Linked DNA regions of Homo sapiens: region 2 is linked to region 1. The links are contacts of gene promoters, found by promoter capture Hi-C in human tissues and cell types (Jung and others, 2019). All regions are on one chromosome and are shown on one strand. The core of a region is centred on a gene start or on the middle of the fragment in contact, and the rest is flanking DNA. Distances in the headings are between cores, read along the strand shown. Region 1 holds the start of BATF (basic leucine zipper ATF-like transcription factor). Region 2 has its middle 57 kb from the start of LINC01220.

The links. Contacts are between HindIII fragments. The study calls those that stand out against the background at their distance.
Region 2: a fragment that was not itself captured here is called in contact with the fragment with the promoter of BATF in region 1 in 4 of the 25 tissues and cell types used here (adrenal gland, dorsolateral prefrontal cortex, heart left ventricle and 1 more).

Annotation. Positions count from the first base shown.
Region 1 is chr14:75,519,923-75,524,632 of GRCh38, reverse strand. It overlaps BATF (basic leucine zipper ATF-like transcription factor), which reads right to left and starts at 2,164. Exons shown (of 3, transcript NM_006399.5): 1 at 1,888-2,164. The coding sequence starts at 1,950. RefSeq lists an enhancer at 1,867-2,196. The HindIII fragment of the contact is 4,535 bases long and covers 85-4,619 here.
Region 2 is chr14:75,348,878-75,354,100 of GRCh38, reverse strand. No RefSeq gene overlaps it. Among named protein-coding and RNA genes, the nearest start is that of LINC01220, 57 kb to the right of the region's middle. The HindIII fragment of the contact is 4,553 bases long and covers 791-5,223 here.

The DNA of each region.
Region 1 (4,710 bases), core at 915-3,414:
TTTCAGAAGTGCTCTTGTTTAATTCCCCAATGCTGTGAAGTTGATATCATCATTTCCATTTTATATGTGAGGAAACTGAGGCTCTAAGAGTGTGCCCAAGGACTCCTGGTCATCTGAGAGTGCTACATCTTCTGGTGCTGAGCCCAATGGCTTTCCAAGACCCTTCCCCGCTAGCTACTCTGCACCCCATGTGGTCTTCTGCTGCATTCCTGAGCTGAGGGTGCATCCCAGATCTGCCTCCTCTTTCCTTCCGTTGTGCTCAGCCACTGTGACATTCCCCATGGCCCCAGCACAATGCCTGGCACATCAATGCCAAAAAGAACGTTAATGGTGGAGGTGACCTGGCTGTGGTGGGCAGTAGATGGGTGCTTGGTAGGATAAGGGGATCTTTGGGTGTTCTCTAATTACACCCAGAGAGAGGCATGTCCTGTGCCTGGGCAGAGAGGTTAGCTCCAGTTCTCTCCCAGATGCTGCAGTGTAGGTGTAGGAGTCCTGGCAACTCATGCCCTGTTCCCTTCCACGTCTCCCACAGGCTAGAGGGGCACAGATCCAAGGGCAAAGCTCTGGGATCACTAAGTACTGGGCTCACCAACATGTCCAATACTTTCAGGCCTTTGTGGTAGGAGGTCATTGGCATAGATAGGAAGGAAGTGCTCTTCCTCTAAGGGGGATGGGGCACCAGGTTACCATGGAAGCCATGAGTAATTTCCTTCCTAAGAAAAGTACAAACTTCCAGGCAGTCAGAGCCACTCTGACACCATCTTGAGCAGCAGACTGGATTCTGTGCCTTCTAGAGGTCTCCACCCAGACTCATCCCAGCCTGCTGCTCCGTTATTAGAGGCTTAGGATATACGCCCTGTTCAATATTTATATACTTTTATTTTGGCTGCAGCATTTTGAAAACCCTTGTGGATATCTGTGCTAAGGAAAGAATGAAGTTTTTAAACTATGAAGGTTGAGAAAATTTTAACCCACGGATACATGTCGGATGAGAAAGAGGAGGGCTTCCTACAGCAAGGGATGTCAAGAGTGTGGTGCAGAACAAAACCCTAGAAGCTGTGAGATGGGCAGGGCACTCCTTTTTTGGTAATCCTCAAGCTAAAACCTTTGGACTTGGAAGTCACAATCTAGACTCCAAATGCTCCCACAATCCCTATCTCAGTCTCTCTGGTTTCCCCAGAGCTAAGATGAACTACCAGCAAATGTCTTCCAACAAATTTCCAGAGCCACCTCCTCATTCATTTCCTTGCTCCTATCCAGAAGCCACAAGCAAAGAGATATTGGCTGGACCTCTAGCATCTCCCCTTGCTGGCTGTGCTAGCAACAGAGGCAGTGCCCCAGTAGAGAGATCCTTCTATGCTAGCCTGGGTTTCTCCTCCTCCTCCTCCTTCTTCCTCTTCTTCTTCTTCTTTTTTTTTTTTTTTAACTTTTCCCTAACCCCTTTTCTCCCCTTCCCTATTGGCTGTCTCCTGGGAAACTGCATATCTAGGATTTGAGCTGTGCATGCCAGCGGCCCACTTGAAAACTCCTCTCACTTTTCTACAGCCTTGGAGAACAGTAGACTCTTTTCTCTGCATTCTTTGATGTTCATCCTCCTCTTTGCTTCCTAGAAAGCTTTTTAGGGTGGCAACCCCAGTGAGGCAGAGGTGATAGGCAGCCTTGGAAAATGGAGAGAAAAAGGGGCTTTGGCAGAATGGGTGGAAGGATGAGGATCTCTGCCAATATGCACAGCTTAGTAGCAAATTCCATGTCCTAAGTCTAACAGAGTGCCCGTGCAACGAGCCACTTCCTCCATCCTCAGCTCCCTGGGCAGGACAAGGAAGCCTGGCTCTCTTTCCATCCCCCAGGAGAATCAGAAGGTAGGAGAGAGAAAAAGGAGGACTCTACCTGTTTGCCAGGGGGAGGAGAGCGGCTGAAGCTGGAGTCACTGCTGTCGGAGCTGTGAGGCATGGCTGAAATCTTCCGGGCTCTCACACTCAGCCCCAGGCACCTCTGGGCTCTCTTGTCACCAGCTGGGCTCCCTTCCTGACTTCTCCTGGGCCACCAGCCCACCACCCCCTACAGGTGCCTCCTCTGCCTGCCCTGTAGCCACCTCTGACCCCTGCGTCCTCCTCACTCTGGGGTGCAGAGGGACTGCTCCCCAAAGGGACATGTCGCTCGCTTTGGGGCTTGCACGCTCTCTCTCTCTCTTGTGGTTTCTGGTAACTCACGCTGGAAGTCACATGGGCGGAAACTTCAGCGAGTTAGAAGTTAGAGAGAAAAATACATATCTGGGAAAAGACCTACAGAATTATGTGAAAGAAAAAAAAATACAGATACCTTCCGACAGTTTGAAAGACACAGCAGCCCTCTTCAATTGATGAAGATAAAAGAGAAAAACAGCCCAGGCAGGGAAAAACCCCAGCCAGAATTAGCAAGTCCGTCTTCTGTCAACATGGGCAGAGAGGAGAGGACAACCAGGAAAATGTTTCCATTGTCATACGACTTGATTTTTAAACCAAAATAAAGCAAAAACACTGGGATTTCTTTCTGGTTTTCAGCCGAAAGCAGCTGCTCACCCATCTTGTCTTTCCTCACCCCTTAAGTCCAGCCAGCCTCGGGGTGGTCTGGAGATAAGACGATCCAAGGGTATTCTCCTTTCCTGACCATCAAACACAAGGGCTGTGGGAGATCAGAAAGCCACAAGGGAGGTTCTAGAATTGCTGCTCTGAAAGCCTATTAAGCGCCTGTGCTGCTTGGCAGGGAGCTCACACTCTTTAGAGAAAAGATGCCTTCCATATTGAGCAGCTCAAGACAGGCCCTGAATCTTTATGATTCAAGGTCACCTGGTCAGAACCCAGAATGCAGAAACAGTTAAAAAAAAAAAAGAAAGAAAGAAAGAAAGAAAAAGTGAAACAAATACTACACTTGGAGTCAGACCAACCAAGATTTAAATTCTGGTTCTACCACTTTGTATGTCTGTGGCCCTGGGTAGCTCACTTGAGCTATGTGACCTTCATTATCTTCATCTGTAAACAGAGGATGATAAAACCTGCCCTGCCTACCTCTTAGGAATGTGGCACAAAGCAAATGACAACGCGGATTAGAATGCCCCGCAGACTCTGAAGTAAATGACCGAGAGGGTAAGTGTAGGGTATTCCCAGCCTTGCCATGAGCGCATTTGTAGGGTTCTCAGTGATCAATTCAACCCTCACCTGGGCATCGTGGCTTTTTCAAAAGGCCTTACCTTATTCCCAGTATGGCTCGAAGCCAAACATTTGCCTTATTAAATTTTAGGATTGACAGGAAGTTACGGCTCCTAGAGGATTTTTGTATCCATGAGCTGAATTTCTAGACTAAGACAATATTGCCCTAAGGTTAAATTAAGTAAGACAAAATTCCTTTCCTATGGAGGAAAATAAAGCAGGGTTGGAGGTTAGGGAATTCTGGGTGGTCAGAAGGGCCTTGCCCAAAGAGGGGATACCTGAGCAGAGATTCGAAGAAAGAGAGGGAGTGAATGGTGAGTGTCTCAGGGAAGGACATTCCAGGACCTGAGGTGGAAGTGTGCTTGAGTATTGGAAAAAGAGCAGGGGGGCCAGGTAGTTGGATATCAGAGGCAGCAAAAGTGGCAGGCGATGAGGTCAGTGAGGTAATGGCCCGGTCAGGGAGGGCCTTAGAGGCCAACATCAGGATTTTAGCTTTCATTCTGAAAGACACAGTGAGCCCATGGAGGGTTTCCCCTTCCACCTTCATTCTTATCCTCTACCTCAGCTACTATTCATTTCTCCCATAGCAGTTACCCAATTTTATACTTATTTTATTCGTTTACTGATTTATCTTTTTCCTGTTTCCCTCAATAGAATGTTAAAACCATTTACACCTTTATTAATATATTCAACAAACGTTCATGGTGCATCTACCATGTGCCAGGCACTAAGTACTGAGGATACAGTTAGTAAAAAGAAGCTTGACTTTTTGTCTAAATGAGATAGTCTATCAGTGTTCGCTGCCCAAAAAACTACCAGAAACTTCGATGACTCAAGCCATTTATTTGGCTCATGAGTCTGTGGGTCATCTGAAAGGTTCTTTGGGGATAGGCTGGGCTAGGCTGATCTCGGCTAGGCTCGGTCATGTGTCCTCAGACAGCTGGTAGGTTGGCTGATAATTGACTGGTCTGGCCTGGCTTTGCCTTGGGCATTTCTCCTCCACATGGTCTCTCATCCACCAACAGGCTGGTCGGAGCATGTTTATTTGATAGTGGCAGGATTCCAAGAGTAGGAGCAGAAGCATTCGAAGCCCCATGGAACCCAGGCTCAGAGCTAGCACAGAACTCAGAACCTGCCACATTCTATTGGCCGAGGAGAGTCACAAGGCCAGTTCAGACTCAATGAGTTGAGAAACAGACTTCACTTCTCGATAGGAAAAATTTAACTAATTGTGGCAATTTCTACAATCTCCTACAGATGAGAAGCCATTGGAGGTGTCAGAGCAGAGGAGTGACATGATCTGACTTAGGTTTTTAGAGGATCTCTCTGGACACAGTTGAGATTTTACGATAGGGGAGCAAAGTGGAAGCAGGGAGATGAGTCAGGATTTCAGTATTGGATTACTGCAACCATCCAAACAAAAGATGCTGGCAGCATAGGCCAGTTAGACAGTGATGAAAGTGGTGAGAAGTGGGCCCTGTAAAAACCAAAGTCTGTGTTTCTCTTGTTTATAGTCATATGCTCA
Region 2 (5,223 bases), core at 1,818-4,317, 170 kb after region 1:
GAGCAAGGAAGGCAGAGTTGCAGTGAACAGAGATCACACCACTGCACTCCAACCTGGGTGATAGAGTGAGACCCCATCTCAAAAAGAAAAAAAAACGAAACTACAGACAAAATTGGGAAGGAGGTGGGAAGTGGGGCTGCATTCCATGGCAGGTCAACATTGTTGCCTTTCCAGAACCACAGAAATTCATCCCAGAAATCCTGTTAGCCACTCGAGGCTACTATTTGCCCCCAAAGTTTAAATATATCATATAAAACTTTATAAAGTTTTAAATATAGCATATAAAACTTTATAAAGTTTTAAATATATCATATGTGTCATCATTATATATGATACATTTAAAACTTTATAGTTTTATATTAGCTATATTAGGCTATATTAGCTCTCGGGGTGGGACATAGTGAAATTTTCCTCTTGTCATCTAAAAAGGCCAAGGAAAGGAACCTCTCATTCACTGAGAGGTGGGCATAGCACCCTAGTTCTCCCCGGGGCAACTTCTGGCCAGGCCGAAGCCCTCATTCCCTCTGAAACGGAGGTGGTAGAGGCCAGGAGCAAGCATGGAGGAGGAGAGGAAAGGAGGCCAAAAAGGCCCTCTCCCCACTTGGGCCCACTGCCCTCAAATCCCCCACCCCAACGTCCCTCCAGATCCTCCACGGACGGTTCTCTCCTCTTTGGCACGTTGCTAATTTCTGAAAAGAAGGTCCTGGGAGCTGTGATTGTCCTGTACCCCCGAAGACGTACACACTAAGGAAGGTGTGAAGCTGCCGCAATCAGATGGTGCCCTTAACAACAGCCAGGGTGAAACCCCCTGAACACCTGGCTTTGTGAATTTCACAGCCTATTAACCCTGGTGGGTCTTTCCTTAAGACTTCTTACACCAGCCCGTTAGGGGAATGGGGGCAGGCAGGGAGCTCAGGCCTCTGCTCTACCCACCGAAATTGGTTCTAGGGCCCACTGCGGACAAACCACAGACCTCTGAGGATTCAGTGAGATAGTATAGGCAAAAATTGCACAGTGCCTGGGAAACAGGCATGCATTTTTTTTTTTTTTTTTTTTTTTTTTTTTTTTGAGATGGAGTCTTGCTGTCGCCTGGGCTGGAGTGCAGTGGGGTGATCTCAGCTCACTGCAACCTCCACCTCCCTGGTTCAAGCAATTCCCCTGCCTCAGCCTCCTAAGCTAAGCAGGGTCGGGCCTGGTTAGTACTTGGATGGGAAACAGGCATGCATTCTACAAATATTTACTAGCATTTACTATGTGCCAAGTACTGTTCTAGGCACTAGGGATACAACTCTGAACAAAGTGAAATCCTGTTCTTCTGGAGCTTCCATTCCACTGAGAGAGGCAGATAACACATAAACAATATATGTCAGATGCTAAGGGAAAATAATCAAGGAGGCCAAGGCAATGAGAGGCCACCATCTAGGCTGGAGGGCCAGGTAAGGCCTCCCTGAAGGAGGCCACGGAGCAACGGCCACCAGCCCCTCCAGAGGTGAGAGGGCTCATTTGAGAGTAGGAGGTTCACTGGGAAGCCTGGCTGTGCCTTAACACAGAGCAGGAGGTGATGGGGAAGGGAAGAGAGGGTGGGTTGCCATTATCCATCTCCACCTTAAAGAGAGTTGGTGTGGTTCGAATGAATTTCCCAGAAGCCCCTCCCTCACCTGCTGCAAAGGAGTCACTGGTTGTCCTGAGGGCTGCTTATTAAAGATTGTTTCCAGCTGCCTCAAACCAACGGCAGTCCCCTATATGTGTGCTTCTGAGAGGCTCCTCTCCCAACAGCCAGTGCTGCCTCAGTTTCTCCTGGGTTGTCAGTCTTTTGAAGTCTAAAAATTAAATGATTCAGATCAAATTCTTGATCTGGCACTTACTGGCATGTGTCCTTGAGTGGGAAAATTTCTTACCCTTATAGCCGGGCACAGAGGTTCTTGCCTGTAATCTCAGCACTTTGGGAAGCTGAGGCGGGAGGATTACTTGAGGGCAGGAGTTCAAGAACAGCCTGGGCAACATGGTGAAATCCCGTCTCTACAAAAAAAAAAAAAAAAAATTCTTAACCTCTGTGAATGTGCCTCAGTTTTCTCCCCTGCAATGTGGAAATTAGTGCCAATGCCTACCTTGGCATTGGCCATAGGATAATAAAACGGGCTCATCCAGGAAAGCACTTAACACAGAGCCTGGCACACATAACTGCCTTAAAAATGTTTGTGACAGACCCCAGGTCACATCCTTTATCCCTCTGTATACTAGGCCCTTGTCCTTTTACGCTCTCTGATGTCAAGGCAGCTGCAGCTGTGAGATTTTCCAGCCCTTACCCAAAGCTGAGAACCAAAGACTGTTCATGGTACATTTCTGTACTAGAGGAATAGGAAAGCATATGATTGGAGAACCTGATGGAGACCCCACCCTTCTGGACAAGCATTGACACTCAGGAATATCTGCTGTTGTTGCTACCCAGCTTCCATTCATGCTATCTTCAGGAATGATGCCCTGATTTCCCCTACAGAACATGGTACCCCACTCCCATTCCCAAAGCTTCAGATGGAGGCCTCTCCTGGCCTCAGAGTAGAGCACAAACCTAGGACTCAACCAATCAACGCACTCCATTCTCCTCACCACAGCAACTGGTTGGAGGATAGAAACACCGTCCATCTGAACCAATGACAGCCAGGCCTAAACTTTGGTCTGTGGGGAAACAGATGCTCTCTTTCCTACTGAATTGGATCTTAGAAGAAGTTACTTGGAGCCACTATGAATTTCTTCATTTTTTAAATCAGCATGCCCCCATTACTGTGTGAATTTTAAAAAAGGATGAAAGCTCAGAGCCAAAGGATTATTTGATATAACATATGTGAAAGCTTTTTGTACAAGGCAAAGTTCTATGCAAAATGTCAGAGCTCCTAAAGTCAAGCTATAAAATAAGACTGAGCTACTTTCACTGAGTCTTTTACTCTGCATCAGGTGTTTTATATGCACTATTGAATGTTACTGAATTTAATACTACCAATTGCCCTTTGAGGTAGGAATTATTTAAGGCCCATTTTACAGATAAAGAAAGTAAAGCTTAGTAAAATTAAGTATGCCCAAACCCACACTGGGGGGTTCTCTGGTAGAACAGCCTGCCTGTGTTATATACCCATATGACCAAAGGAACTGTGGAGTTTAACTTGTGTAACCTCACCAGATTCTGCATACAAGATGAAGTCACATTAGCTGTTATACCCAAATTTAGCTAAGTCATGCAATTATGCCCAAGTTCAGCTGAGTCCTGGCCCCTTTCTGCTCACAGGGATCTCATGCTACCCCTCCTTTGCCCTTCTCTCTCCCCTATCTCAAGCTCCAGACACCAGAATACCAAAGCAACTCCCCTATTCCCCACCCTCTGGTGCAAATCACTCAGACCAATGCCTGGAGAGCTCAGTTTGCAGCCATAGCAAAGCAAGATCACCCAGCTACAATGATACAATTGCCTGCCAATCACAAGCCAGCAGCTCTATCATTTTGTAGAGAAGGTTGGCTTCTCCTCTTATCTCCTCCATATTTCCACCCTCACATGTGGCCTTTTCTCTCCATTCATCTCGGTCCTTGGAGAAGGAAGGTCCTTTCTGAGTCTCTTCAATATCCAAGGTCTAATCTCTTCTGTATGTGATCCCCACCTACTACTGGAATCTTCCTCCACCCTTGGCTGGTGTGTCTCTACAGGCATCTCCTCCTACTGCTCAGATGGCACCTTCACCAGCTCCTCCTCCCCCTCCTGCCATCTTCTAACTCTGGAAAGTCACCAGGACTCAGTCCTGGATGCCACACCATTTTCCCTTCATAAGCTCTTCCTCAAGTAGGCCATTTCTCTTATGGCTTCAGTGACCACTTCTCTGAGGACAAATTCTAACTAAATCTCAGGCCCGGCCCACAGAACGTCCACTTGGATATATCCCTGTCACCTTAAAACCTTCAAGCTTAGAAGGGTCCCAAGTCCTCCCTGACAATTGGTTCTCTCTCTCCTAACTTCTCTATGTCTGTGAGCACATCTGTTTGTTTTCAGTTTAGGGGAGGAAAATTGCAGCCAGGCCTCTGCCATAACTAGCAATACTTAGCACCACTCTCTCCCTCCCCAGATTAAAATGAGTTGTCCTGTAGTAGGGTAGCTAATGACCACTCTGTGACAACCAAAAATCTCAGTGGCTTAACACAATACAGGTTAATTTCTTACTTCTGTCACAGATCAATGAGAAATCAAAGGTGAGGAACTCTGCTCCATATAGTCATTCAGGGACCCAAGCCCTTTCCCTAGTGGCTCTGTTATCTCCTAAGACTTGGAATCCCCCACTACATCCTCAGTGTACAGCCAGCAGATGAAAGACCAGAGAGAGTGATGGATCACAGGGGACACTTTTAGGAACCAGGACCAGAGGTGGTATACGGCACTTTCACCTGCATCCCACTGGTCGGGACTGAGTCACATGCCCCAGCAAACTACAAGAGAGGCTGGGAAATGTAATCTAGCCATGTGCCCAAAAGGAAAAGGAAATGGAGGTTGGTGAACACATAGCAATCACCTCTCAGCCTGGAGTGCTTGGTCTGCAACCTAACCCCTCAATAAGCCCCATATCTTGAAGAATTTCAACCTTGTCTCAACCAAGCAGCCCAACCACAGCTGCTCAACCTGCCCCTAAGTATCAACTTAATGACATTGGTTCTCACACAATTGCTAGTCTTCGTTCATCCAATAAACAGTTACTGAGCACTTAATCATCCCCCAGTTGTTATGCTATACACCAGAGAGGCAAAGGCAAGTAAAAAAGTGGTCCCTGCCCTCAAGAAGACCCCATCTTGTATAACCTCATTCAAACCTAAGGAAAACATTTACTATATTATTATTTCGCCATTTAAAATCCTTTTCTTGGCTGGGTGCGGTTGCTTACGCCTGTAATCCCAGCACTTTGGGAGGCCGAGGCGGGCAGATCACTTGAGGTCAGGAATTCAAGACCTGCCTGGCCAATATGGTAAAACCCTGTCTCTACTAAAAATACAAAAATTAGCCGGGCATGGTGGCAAGTGCCTGTAGTCCCAGCTACTCAGGAGGCTGAGACAGGAGAATCACTTGAACCCAGGAGATGGAGATTGCAGTGAGCCGAGAAAGCACCACTACACTCCAGCCTGGTGACAGAGCAGGACTCCATCTCAAACAAACAAACAAACAAACAAACAAACAAAAAAACCCTTTTTTTGTCA